Regions from separate parts of the Homo sapiens genome. Here regions 2 and 3 are each linked to region 1. Evidence: promoter capture Hi-C in 16 types of primary human blood cells and fetal thymus (Javierre and others, 2016). All regions are on one chromosome and are shown on one strand. Each heading gives the region's core, a stretch centred on a gene start or on the middle of the fragment in contact. The rest is flanking DNA. Distances are from core to core; before and after follow the strand shown. Region 1 holds the start of ZNF891 (zinc finger protein 891). Region 2 overlaps GOLGA3 (golgin A3). Region 3 holds the start of GOLGA3 (golgin A3).

The links. Contacts are between HindIII fragments. The CHiCAGO score rates a contact against its expected background, and 5 or more counts as called.
Region 2: a contact is called between a fragment that was not itself captured here and the fragment with the promoter of ZNF891 in region 1, in 2 of 17 cell types (erythroblasts and fetal thymus). The highest score is 5.8, in erythroblasts.
Region 3: a contact is called between the fragment with the promoter of GOLGA3 here and the fragment with the promoter of ZNF891 in region 1, in 1 of 17 cell types (neutrophils). The highest score is 5.6, in neutrophils.

What each region holds. Positions count from the first base shown.
Region 1 is chr12:133,128,517-133,132,513 of GRCh38, reverse strand. ZNF891 (zinc finger protein 891) reads left to right here and starts at 2,240. Exons shown (of 2, transcript NM_001277291.2): 1 at 2,240-2,287. It overlaps ZNF10 (zinc finger protein 10), which reads right to left and starts at 1,887. Exons shown (of 5, transcript NM_015394.5): 1 at 1,760-1,887. RefSeq lists enhancers at 253-422, 1,505-1,784 and silencers at 1,835-2,074, 2,445-2,624. The HindIII fragment of the contact is 7,004 bases long and covers 1-2,852 here.
Region 2 is chr12:132,765,580-132,769,576 of GRCh38, reverse strand. It overlaps GOLGA3 (golgin A3), which reads left to right. Exons shown (of 24, transcript NM_001389683.1): 24 at 1-663. Among named protein-coding and RNA genes, the nearest start is that of ANKLE2, 5.7 kb to the right of the region's middle. RefSeq lists enhancers at 1-36, 1,505-1,554, 1,665-1,714. The HindIII fragment of the contact is 1,846 bases long and covers 928-2,773 here.
Region 3 is chr12:132,826,789-132,830,785 of GRCh38, reverse strand. GOLGA3 (golgin A3) reads left to right here and starts at 1,917. Exons shown (of 24, transcript NM_001389683.1): 1 at 1,917-1,983. RefSeq lists silencers at 1,400-1,609, 1,980-2,039, 2,540-2,639 and an enhancer at 1,690-1,829. The HindIII fragment of the contact is 8,970 bases long and covers 1-3,997 here.

The sequences.
Region 1 (3,997 bases), core at 991-3,490:
GGAGTTTCGCTCTTGTTGCTCTTGTTAATTTAAGATGTGTATCTCAAATCTCTGCCCTTGTGACTGGCATATGTTAATTAGCTGGGCATGGTGGCTGGCGCCTGTAATCCCAGCTACTAGGGAGGTTGAGGCAGGAGAATTGCTTGAACCCAGGAGGCAGAGGTTGCAGTGAGCCAAGATCGAGCCATTGCACTCCAGCATGGGCAACAAGAACAAAACTCTATCTCAAAAAAAAAAAAAAAAATTCTCAGATTTTCTTGACAATTGAATATAATCTATAAACAGAACTGTTTTTATTCTTACTCATCCTTTATTCTTCTAGTAAGAATTGCCTAGTAAGGTTTTGAAGTTTTTCTCATATAGTTCACATATATTTCTAGCTAAAATTATTTTCTTCCTATTGTGAAGACTTTTTAAAAATAAAAGTATGTGCTAACTTGTTGAGGACGGCAATCAATCTATTAGCTTATATATTTCCTTTTCAGTCACTTTACTACAAATTATTGATAGTAATTGAATCTCTTCTCATTTTGGGGACTTAATTAGTTAATTAATTAACAAGGATAATTTTGTAATCTCTTTTCCAGAAGGTAAGCCTCATATCTACTTAAATATTGTCCTAAGTAGAATTTCCAGACAGTGCTTATATAAAATACTGATAAGCAGAAATTCTCATTTAATTTATGATGTGTATCTCAAATCTCTGCCCTTGTGACTAGCATATACTAAGAGCTAAAGAAATGCATGCTGAGAGAAGTAATCAAAAAACAAATGTAACTTTCAAAAAGAGGCAGGAGCGTGTGCAACTTACCATCCAAGAGGCTTTGGAAGATGGGGGACAATTTTAGTAAAACAGAAGAGATTAGTTATGTCACAAGAGAAAAGTTAGTGTGGAGGTAATTTTCAAAAGGGTAGGGAGGATTTGTGCTATCCAGTTCTCGGAGACCTAACTGCAGTCATTTCTAACCTAATAACACTTGTTGGCTGGCATTCTGGGTGACATCCTGCCTTCCCTTTTACTTTTTTTTTTTTAATTAACAGTATCTTTCTGCAATTAATGTATAGCTGGAATTGAAATTGTTCACCTTCTGCATACACTTTGGGTGGGATCTACGTACGAAATCTTGATGTTAACCTTATCTTTGACACTCATATTATGTGTTAGATGGCGTATATATATCTAGTGTCAAGGGAAAATAAAAATATAGTAATTAAACTTATGATCTGTCTCTGAAAATAAAAAAAATAGATTAACCACACAAACACGCCTTCAGTTAATCTATCTGATTAAAAAACAAAACAAAGATGAGGAAGCTAAGAGCTAGAGATGCAGGATTTGTTTTTAAAAGACCACACACGAATCGGCGTCACTATTTCAACAAATACTAGAAAGGCCATATGCAAAATTTTAAACATCTATCCCAGCTGGGGGGAAAAATGGAAGTTAGACTAGAAGAAACCTTATTTTGTATTACTGAAAATATCTGGTTCAAACTTACCACCACCGCCGCCCACTCTGCGTCAATCTCCAGGTGCAGCCGTTATTCTCCACAGAACAAGAACGTCCGCCGTGAACGCCGGGGCCGCGCGAGGGACAGAAAGTGACTGAGGCAAGGGGTGACGATCACCGTTAAATTTTTTCATTGACGAAATTACCGTCTACCTAGAAATACGAAGCTAATACACTGCTACATTACTAAAGGGCTCAACACGCGCCTGATGACGATGCAAACACAAAATTCAGCACTTTCGTATATACCTGCAATAAGCAACTAGAAGGTTCGATGGGAGAAAGCGATCCCGTCACAAAGGCAGCAGCAACAGCAAAACAGAGAACGCGACTCCATTCACCAGCGGAGCGCGAAGAGCGGCGTCAGAGGTGAGTCTGAGGCCGGCTCGGCACGGCGGCGCCACCTCCCCGTGGCCTGACGTCACGCACGCGCACGCGCCCCGCCCCCATTGGTCCTACGCCCGCCCCTGCTGCGAACGCACGCACACGCACCCACAACACACACCGTTACGCACGCGCCCCAGCCTGGCGTTCAGGCCACGCTCCGCCCCCAGCCCGTCAGCCGCGCGCCCCGGGACCCTAGAGCCGGCGATTCGTCGCCGGCGCCGCAGCCGCCACTCTGTGCCGGACCCTGCGGGCCTTCGGCCCAGAGCGCGTCCGTGACGCACAGACCAGGCCCCTCTGCGGGGCGGCGCAGGAGCTCCTGGGAAACGTAGTTCGGCCTCGCGTCCCCCTCGGGCGGGACCGCGGACGCCTGGAGGCAGGCACTGAGGACGGGTGAGCATGCGGGCCTGTGGCTCGTTCACCCGGGACAAGTCCCTCGTGGGATCAGCCTGGCCCGCTGAGTTCTCCTGCGTGCAGGGATCGCCTCACGGGAGTCTGAGCAGCAGGGAGCCTGCCCGGGAGGCGGCGGTGGGAGAGGCCCTTGAGGGAGGAGGGGCTACTTACCGGGTGCGAGTGGAGCGCGGGGAGCGAGTGGGGACCAGGGGCGCGCGGGGCGGAGGGGTCCCGGGCTGGCTGCGGGTGCCACGCAGGGAGCGCTGGGGGGCCGGGGATGCGCGTTTGCCTCCTTCTCTAAGCAACACGGGAGGGCTAAAGGGTGCACGCCTCTGTCCAGCAGCCTCTCTTGAATCTCTAAACCTAGTAATGAGTTGAATCACAGCCATCGTTTTTTTCACCTATTGCCTTATACTGTGGTTGAATGCGATATGGTTTTATTTCTTTAATACTCTGGTGTATTCAATTGGCTGTTTCCCTTTGACTTCACCTATGCTCACAAGATTGTGTTTTAATCTTTTTGTGTACTATCCTTGCCCGTTATACTAACAAGATTTTACAAGCTTCATGAATAATTTGGACAGCACAGTCTCTCTTCTATTCTGTAAAACAGGTCACCACCCCTCACCGCCCCCCGCCCGCCTCCAAAAGTTTGGTGCTATTTGGTCTTAAAATATTTAGTACGCATTTAACTTCTGACTCAATTTTTTTTTTTTTTTTTTTTGAGACAGAGTTTCGCTCTTTGTTGCCCAGGCTGGAGTGCAATGGCGCCATCTTGGCTCACAGCAACCTCCGCCTCCCGGGTTCAAGTGATTCTTCTGCCTCAGTCTTGTGAGTTGCCGGGATTACAGACATGAGCCACCACGCCCAGCTAATTCTGTATTTTTAGTGGAGATGGGGTTTCTCCATGTTGGTCAGGCTGGTCTGGAACTCCCGACCTCAGGTGATCAGCCTGCCTCGGCCTCCCAAAGCGCTGAGATTACAAGCGTGAGCCACCGCACCCGGCCCTGACTCAATTTTTTAAAAAGTCTCATTGATTAGGTTTTTTAGTTCGTATTCTGTTTTAGATACCTTTCCTAGATAATTGTTTTTAATCTAATTTTTCAAATTTATTGGCATAAAATTGCCCATGCTATTTTATCACTGTAAGTAATTTCTATGGTGATTTTTAAAATCACCACTTTTTAATATTTTACTGCTGTAATTGTTATTTTTTTCTTTTTTGAACCTAATTATCTAGGCCTTTTTTTCTTGATTACTCCTATAAGGTATATGTGTACATAGTCTTTTCAAAAATGTAGATTTGGTTTTGGTTTTTTTGTTGTTTTGTTTTGGTCTTTTTTGGGGAGGGGGGTCCTATTACAGTAAGTTTTGCTCTTAATTTTTAAATTTTTCTTTTACTTTGTCTCTGTTTTTCTACTTTTTTTTTTTTTTCGAGACAGAGTTTCACTCTGTCTCCAGGCTGGAGTGCAGTGGCGTGATCTCGGCTCACTGTAGCCTCTACCACCCGGATTCAAGCGATTCTCCTGCCTCAGGCCCCACCACGCCCGGCTAATCCAGCTAATTTTTGTTTTTGTTTGTTTGTTTGTTTTTGAGACAGAGTCTCTCTCTCTCGCCCAGGCGGGAATGCAATGGCAGGATCTCTGCTCACTGCAACTTCCACATCCCGGGTTCAAGCCATTCTCCTGCCTCAGCCTCTGGAATAGCTGG
Region 2 (3,997 bases), core at 601-3,100, 360 kb after region 1:
GTGAGATTGATGCTACGGGTCTTACGGACTCACACCCGTTCCCACTCTCTGCAATATGGATCAGGCAGTGTTTCTGATAGGATGTGAAATGGACTCTCCTCGGGTGGGTCCAGCAGGGGCCCTGCCCACCAGAACACAGTCCGTGCTGTGCTGCGCTAAGGAGCTGGCCCTCAACTCTCCTTGGTGCAGGGTTCCCACAACCGAGTTCTAGTTCCCTGAGGTCTTTAAAAACAAAAACAGAATGTTGTACGTGAAGATTCTAGGAGGGGAGGGACCAGCAAATCTGAGAGAACCGTCCTGGGGCCTCCCTTCGAGGAGCCCTCTGATGTGAGGAGGGACTTGAGTTGAGTGACGCTGTGGTGTGAGGTGTTCTGAGCTCACTGACCGGAAGGTCCAGGTGAATCTCGTCATAAGTGATCTCAGGCTCTCACAGGATCCGGAGGGAAATGTGTTAGAGGGTCTGGAAAATTCAGTGCTTTTGAGTTACTTGTTTTTATTAAAAATTTCCTCACAAAAGAGAGTCCTCAAGTTGTGGCTGTTCTTGGGAAAGGGGTCACCGTGTCTGACAAAGTGTAACTTTAAAAAGCACGTTGATTTTTTACAAATGTAAGTGTGCTTGGGAATTCCTTAAATTTTGTGCAATAAACTATTTTTTGGTAAAGATTTTCATATTCATTGGAAGCTTCATTTTAATAGTTATATTTTGTCGTTTGGCAGTAACTTTTTAATCTCATGTTATTACACACTCTGTTCAACACGTGCTTTAAAAGAGAATTCTACTGTCCTGCCGGTTTCTGGCAGGAGTGAAGCAAACTTCTGTGGCTTGTGACCACGGCAGACGCGCGGCACCGCCTCCTCCGTCCTTGGCCCACGCTTCGCTTTGCCCGTTGTCATTTGCCAGGAATACAGAAGGAGGGGGAGCAAGCTTCCCGGTGAACCGGGGAAGGATGGTGACCGCTCTGTGCTGCGCCTCCTGAACTGGGTCTCATCATCCAGGTGCTGCCCTCTGCTGGGCCTCCCCGGTGACAGTGGAGTCATGACTCTCAGACCTCAGCAATGTGACTTCCCAGATTCTCGTCTTTTTCATCCATACTTTGATTTTGGTCATTAAGAGTTAACCAGGCGTAAGCTGGGTGTGGTGGCTCACGCCTGTAATCCCAGCACTTTGGGAGGCTGGGAGGGGGTGGTCACCTGAGGTCAGGGGTTCAAGACCAGCCCGGCCAACATGGTGAAACTCCACCTCTACTAAACAAAAAATTAGCCAGGGCGTGGTGGCGGGCGCCTGTAATCCCCACTTGTCAGGAGGCTGAGGCAGAAGAATCGCTTGATCGGGCAGAGGTTGCAGTGAGCCGAGATCACACCACTGCACTCCAGCCTGGGTGACAGAGCATGACTCCGTCTAAAAAAAAAAAGAGTTAACCAGGTACAGAGTTTTCAGTTAGACGTTATTAGAGGCCACCATGGTTTAAAAAGTACAGAAAAGGGGCAGGAAGTGGTGGTCGCTGGGCTTGGCCCTGTGGGATTAATGCACTTCTTCCTGTGAGCGTTACCAGCTTCTGTACCCAGAGAATTGCTACACAGAGTAAAAATTCCCTGACCACCTTCTGTGGCCTTAACTTTCTGAAATATTAAGGATATAATTTTTTTTGGTCTATAGAACCCTTAAGGGGACATGTATGTATCTGAACTTTTTCCTTTTCTCCATGGAGTTGCTACGTGTTTGCAGGCACTGCACTGACAGGTATATTTTAAGCTGTGTCTGTCTCAGCAGCTCGAAGCTCCACGCTGCGTCCTGCTACAGAGCTCAGCAGTGGGTGTCAGGAGTGGTTTTGGCAGAGATGAATGGGTCACTTCTTCCTGGCTTAGAGTGGCGGCAGGTACTGTCAGGAATTTGGGTTGAGTGTAGGACAGAGGACGTATCGCTGATGGGAGGCTCAGGATTTTTTTTTTTTTTTTTTTTTGGAGACGGAGTCTCACTCTGTGGCCCAGGCTGGTGTGCGGCGGCGCGATCTCGGCTCACTGCAAGCTACGCCTCCCAGGTTCACGCCATTCTCCTGCCTCAGCCTCCTGAGTAGCTGGGACTACAGGCTCCCGCCACCACGCCCGGCTAATTTCTTTTTGTATTTTAGTAGAGACGGGGTTTCACCGTGTCGGCCCGGATGGTCTCGATCTCCTGACCTCATGATCCGCCCGCCTCGGCCTCCCAAAGTGCTGGGATTACAGGCATGAAGGAGACTCAGGATTTAAAAATTACCAGGTCACTCAGAAATCTGAGACCTCGGGTAGTATTAGGAAGCAGGCCAGGCACAGTGGCTCATGCCTGTAATCCCAGCGCTTTGGGAGGCTGAGGCGGGTGAATCACTCAAGATCAGGAATTTGAAACCCGCCTGGCTAACATGGTGAAACCCCATCTCTACTAAAAATACAAAAATTAGCCGGGCGTGGTGATGGGCGCCTGTAATCCCAGCTACTCAGGAAGCTGAGGCAGGAGAATTGTTGAAGCCGGGAGGTGGAGGCTGCAGTGAGTGGAGTTCGTGCCGTTGCACTCCAGCCTGGGCAACAAAGTTGAGACTCGAGATAAAAAAAAAAAGCAGGAAGCAGATAATGGGGGAAACTAAGACGACTGCACTTCCGCCGTCTAGCTTGATGGATAAACATGACAGTTGCTGGCAGCGTCCCCAAGCCTTTCCCAGATGACGAGAGCAAGTCCCAGCACTTGGTGGCGTCTACAGTCGGGAGCATTTGTTGGAACTTGGCGGCCTCTACACAAGCTTCCGTCTGAGGGGGAATGTTGCAGGTTGCGATAAAGAGCATACTTGGGCAGTGGCCTTTCTCCTGGACACAGGGCAATGTTAAACTGCTGCTGGGCCGCCTCTGCCCATGTTTGCAACGCCCTCTGCTCGCCTGTGTGTGGGGGCGTCCTACAGCCCTCCTCCTGGCAGTGCCCTCTTCACCTCTGTGTGGGGGTGTCCTACAGCCCTCCCCCTGGCAGTGCCCTCTTCACCTGTGTGTGGGGGCGTCCTACACCCTTCCCCCGGCTCCACCACTGGCTGCCGGTGACCTTCACAGTGTCCACATCTCTAAGTTCTGACTCCATCTGAAGTGAGGGCTGAAGGTGGCGGAACCTCTGGGAGGCGTGAAAGCCGACTGTGGGCGCCCAAGGCAGCTGAGGGCTGGCGATGCCCTCGTTACTGATGAGGTGGGAACCTCTAGCCCCAAAGGCAGCATGTCCTGGTGGCACCTGGGGAGGCAGCTCTGGGAGCACCACCAGGACACCCATCTCCGCGGCCATCGGCTCAGGGATTTGCGGGAGATTGCTGGGCTTTTCTACACATCGTCGGGGTTGGATTTCACCTTCACATGAAATAGATATATTTTGAGACGGAGTTTCACTCTTGTTGCCCAGGCTGGAGTGCAGTGTCTCGATCTCAGCTCACTGCAACCTCTGCCTGCCAGGTTCAAGTGACTCTCCTGCCTCAGCCTCCAGAGTAGCTGGGCTTACAGGCTCCCGCCACCACGCCCGGCTAATTTTTGTATTTTCAGTAGAGATGGGGTTTCACCATTTTGTTCAGGCTGGTCTTGAACCCCTGACCTCAGGTGATTCACCTGCCTCTGCCTCCCAAAGTGCTAGGATTACAGGCATGAGCCACCGCGCCCGGCCCACAGTGAAATATTTTTGAGTGTCATGTCTAAATGCCCTGAAACCCAGAGAAGGACAATCTTGTCTCTGCTCGCGGAGCCTCCCACAGCACTTCAATTGTTGCAAGATTTCCTTCTGAGCGTTAAACGTGCATTTCTGGAGACTGGATAGATACGTCAAGTGTATCTTCCCAATGCTTTCAAAAATGCCCCCATCTTCACCCAGAAAACAGACCCCCCCCCCCCGCCACCTGCCTGTCCCTGCAGCTGGGCGTCTGATGGTCACGGCCGTAGCTCCCCTGAAACCCCTCATTCCCCTGCATCAGCCCAGGTCCCACCAGGTTCTGGAGCCTGTACG
Region 3 (3,997 bases), core at 668-3,167, 300 kb after region 1:
GAATAATTGTATTTTTTTTTACTGTCAAGTTTTGAGAGTTCTTTATATATTCTAGCTACTAGTCCTTCAACAAACGTGGTTTGAAAATATTTTCTCACAGTCTGTAACTCATCTTTTCATCCTCTTAATGTGGTCTTTCTCACAAGGTTGGTTTGTTTGTTTTGAGATGGAGTCTCGCTCTGTCGCCCAGGCTGGAGTGCAGTGGCACGATCTCAGCTCACTGCAACCTCTGCCTCCCAGGTTCAAGTGATCCCCCTGCCTCAGCCTCCCGAGTAGTTGGGACTACAGGCACACACCACCACGCCCAGCTAATTTTTTTGTATTTTTCATAGAGACAGGGTTCACCATGTTGGCCAGGATAGTCTTGATCTCTTGACCTTGTGATCCACCTGCCTCGGCCTCTCAAGGTGCTGGAATTACAGGCGTGAGACACTGTGCCCGGCTTTTTTTTTTTTTTTTGAGACGGAGTCTTGCTCTGTTGCCCAGGCTGGTGGCACGATCTCCGCTCACTGCAACCTCTCCGCCTCCTGGATTCAAGCGATTCTCCTCCAGCCTCCTGAGTAGCTGGGATTACAGGCACATGCCACCATGCCCGGCTAATTATTATATTTTTAGTAGAGATGGGTTTCACCATTTGGCCTGGCTGGTCTCAAACTCCTGACCTCAGGTAATCCGCCCACCTTGGCCTCCCAAAGTGTTGGGATTACAGGCGTGAGCCACCGCATCCGGTGAAAAGTTTCTAATTTTTTCATGAAGTTTACTCTATCAACTTCTTTTGTGAATTGTGTTTTTTTGGTCAGATCTAAGAACTCTTCCCCAAGCTCTAGATGTGAGAAATTCTGTTTTCTTCTAAAAGTTGTATATTTTACGCCTCAGTCTGATCATTTTGTGTTAGAATTTGCATTTGCAGATAACATGATGGCCCATGTAAAAAATACAAGGATTTTACAACAACAACCGCAAAACACCAAATGAACCCTCAAACTAATGAGTTCAGCGAGGTCTCAGGATAAGAAAATCAACATAGAATTCATCACATTTGTGTAGACCAACAGTGAACACGTGGAAAACGTCAAAAACGCAGTGTTACAGTTGTTTGATGTGAAATACTATAAACTTAAAAGGTGCAGAATCTGTATGCTGAAATTACAAAATGCTGGTGGAAGAAATCAAAAGACCGAAATAAATGGAGGGGCCACCAGGGACGCAGATGAAGGACCGAGTCAGCGATGCCCGTGCTCCCCAAACGATCTGCAGCAGTTCCCATCAAAATCCCAGAAAACTTCGTAGACTGAAGCGTATTCCAAAATCCGCAGAGATGAGCGCAACATCACAGAGGACCCCGAGGCGCCCTCCAGGCCATTTCCTTCCTGACAGCTGGAAGAGCGGCCTGGCGGATGAGGGAAGGTGGAAAGCCGTTCCCCAGCGGCCAGCGGCCCGCGCCGTCCAGCTTTGCCCTTTTTAAAGGGGAAGCAAATAGGGTCCAAAGCAGCGTCGCCTTTGATCTGGCACCTGAAGCGCGAAGGGCGCCGGCCGGGTGGAGGTGCGGGGTTGGGGCGGGGACCCGACTAGGGCGGGCGGGGAAGTCACGCCCACACCGAGCTCGGCCGCGCCCATGCCGAGCCCCGGCCACGCCACTTCCGCCGGAAGCTCGGTTCAGCTTCCTGAAAGAGTTGGTCCTGCAGTTCCGGAAGTTGCGTTTCTACTAGGGAAAGGTCCGCAAACTCTTAAGGTCACTTTCTGAAGGCGGCCTCATCACAGTCGGAGGTGAGCTCGATCCGGACCCTGTGGGCAGAGGGTCCCCGGCCCTAGGGTGGCCACTTGAAGAAGAGGAGGACGTTCTCTGTTCCGGAACGAAAGTAGCGCGTGCAGGCTGTTTCCGGGGACCCGAGGCCGATGCACCGCTCGCCCCGCCCCTCTCACGGCCACGTCTCCGCCGGAGCATCCGGGCCGGGCGGCCTCCGGGGCTGCCAGAGCAGCAGGGTGAGGGGCTCGGAGGCCGCGGCGCCTCGGGGCTCGGGCTCCCGCTCCCGCTCCCGCTCCCGCAGTGCATGGGCGGGGGAGGCTCGAGGGGCGGCGGCGGGGCCTGGGCGCGTCCCTGCAGCGTGGCGGGACGGCCCCGTTCCAGTCACCCCCGCCTCGCTGCGGTGGCCTCGGGCCTGGGCGCCCGCCTTCAGCTGCGGCGGAGCTGGCTCTGTAAATGCCGGTGCCCGCGAGCCCTCCTGAATGCTTGTCTGCGCCCGACGAGCGCGGCCTGTCCCGAAGCTGTCCACTGCCACCACTCGGGCAGTGCTTGCTTTAGCCTGGCCCTTTGCAGCTGAAAGGCGTGACATGGTGTCGGGTGGTTCGTGGGAAGTCGGGGTTTCAGGAGTCCGTGTACTTCCTTGTTTGTCTTTGTCGCTGGCCGACTTGTCTTCATTCCAGGTGGCCAGAGCGAGTGGGGCCGGGCGTTGTCACGGGTATGAACCCGACGAATGTCAGTCGTGTGGCGGGTCCTGGGTATTGTGGGTCTGGGTCACTGCCCCCGCGGAGCCCACCTAGGACAGGGACACCCAGGGTCGCCAGCGAGAGGGTACCGGGCGGTGGTTGGGTGGGGTCCGCTACTCTAAGTGGGAGCCTGGGGGGCGGGCGACTTCCGTGCTAAGGCCTCTATGACGAGAAGCAAGCCAGGCAAAATTGTGAGAAAAGCGCGCCTCAGGCAGAAAGTTTGAAGACCCTGAGGGCGGAGGATGTGGCCACAGTGTAATGGCAAAGGGGGAAAGCGATGGCGGTAAGGATGTTGGTGTAGGCAGGTGCTGGATTCTTAAGAGGTTGGAGTTTATTGTCACTGGGCCAGTGTAAGCCATTTACAGATGACTCATGGATTTTTTTTTTTTTTTTAAGAGACTGGGTGTGTTGCTGTATTGCCCAGGCTGGTGTGGAACTCCTGGCCTCAAGCGATCCTCCCACCCCAGCCTCCCAAAGTGCTGGTGTTACAGGTGTGAGCAGCCACACCCGTCGTCGTGGATTATTTTGAACTGTCTTTTAAACGACATCAACATAGCGCTTTATAACCCTTTAATATCTTTTCAGGCAGTATACCTTAAATGGCAAGAAGGAAATAAATCATCTGACATCACTCAGATTGAAGAGGAGCTTTTTTTCCCCCGATTGCCTTAAGAAGTAGCATACTTTCCCAAGTGAGAATGCCTTCAGTTGGCTTTTAGCGATTTTGACAAGCAACAACTAAAGGGAAAATCGTGATAATTACTGTCATTTTATTGAGGACACGGGACAGACTCTGTGCCTTGTTATATTTAATCCTGGCAAAATTTTGCGTTCATTTTCTCATTGTTTTACTGGTGAGGAAACAGGCTAAATGTGATTAAGAAATCTTTAGCCCAGGCTCTCACAGGTAAGTGGTGGAGGGTCGGGAGCTGAGGCCGGAGTCCTGACTTCCAAGCCTGCCCTTCACGTCTCTGCAGTGACATGAGGCTTGCTTGCTTTTGGTTTTCACTTTGTGTATAGATCTGTGTTTACTTTTGGATACTAGTGTGGCCTCCACCAGGTACTCTTTTCCTGAGGAAATCGTGTTTGGTTTTTGGCTGTGCTCTGTTGTTTCTAATACCCGATAGGAACAGGTGAAACGAGGTGGTGTAGATGGAGCCGTGAATGTTTGTATACAGAATTCAGGTGTGGGGGAAGCAGAAAGTCCTGTAGGTGCCTGAGGTGGTGGTTTCTCAGTATGAAGTCCCTTGATGTTACCCAGCTGTGAACCTAGGGTTGTGTGTACCTTTCGCAGTTCTAAGTGACAGCTTTGTCCTGTCTCTTCTCTCTAGAGACGCAGGAGTGCGAGTGATCATAAGTGAGACTGATTAGACTGGCCTCTTTATTTAAAATAGAGCCATGTTTGTAGTACCAGCTTTCTGTGATGCACTGGCAGTTGCTCCTCCTCCTCGCTGCCCGGAGATCGCTTTTTGTCAGTAGTCTGAGGTAATGAGGCCCTGACGACTGAGTC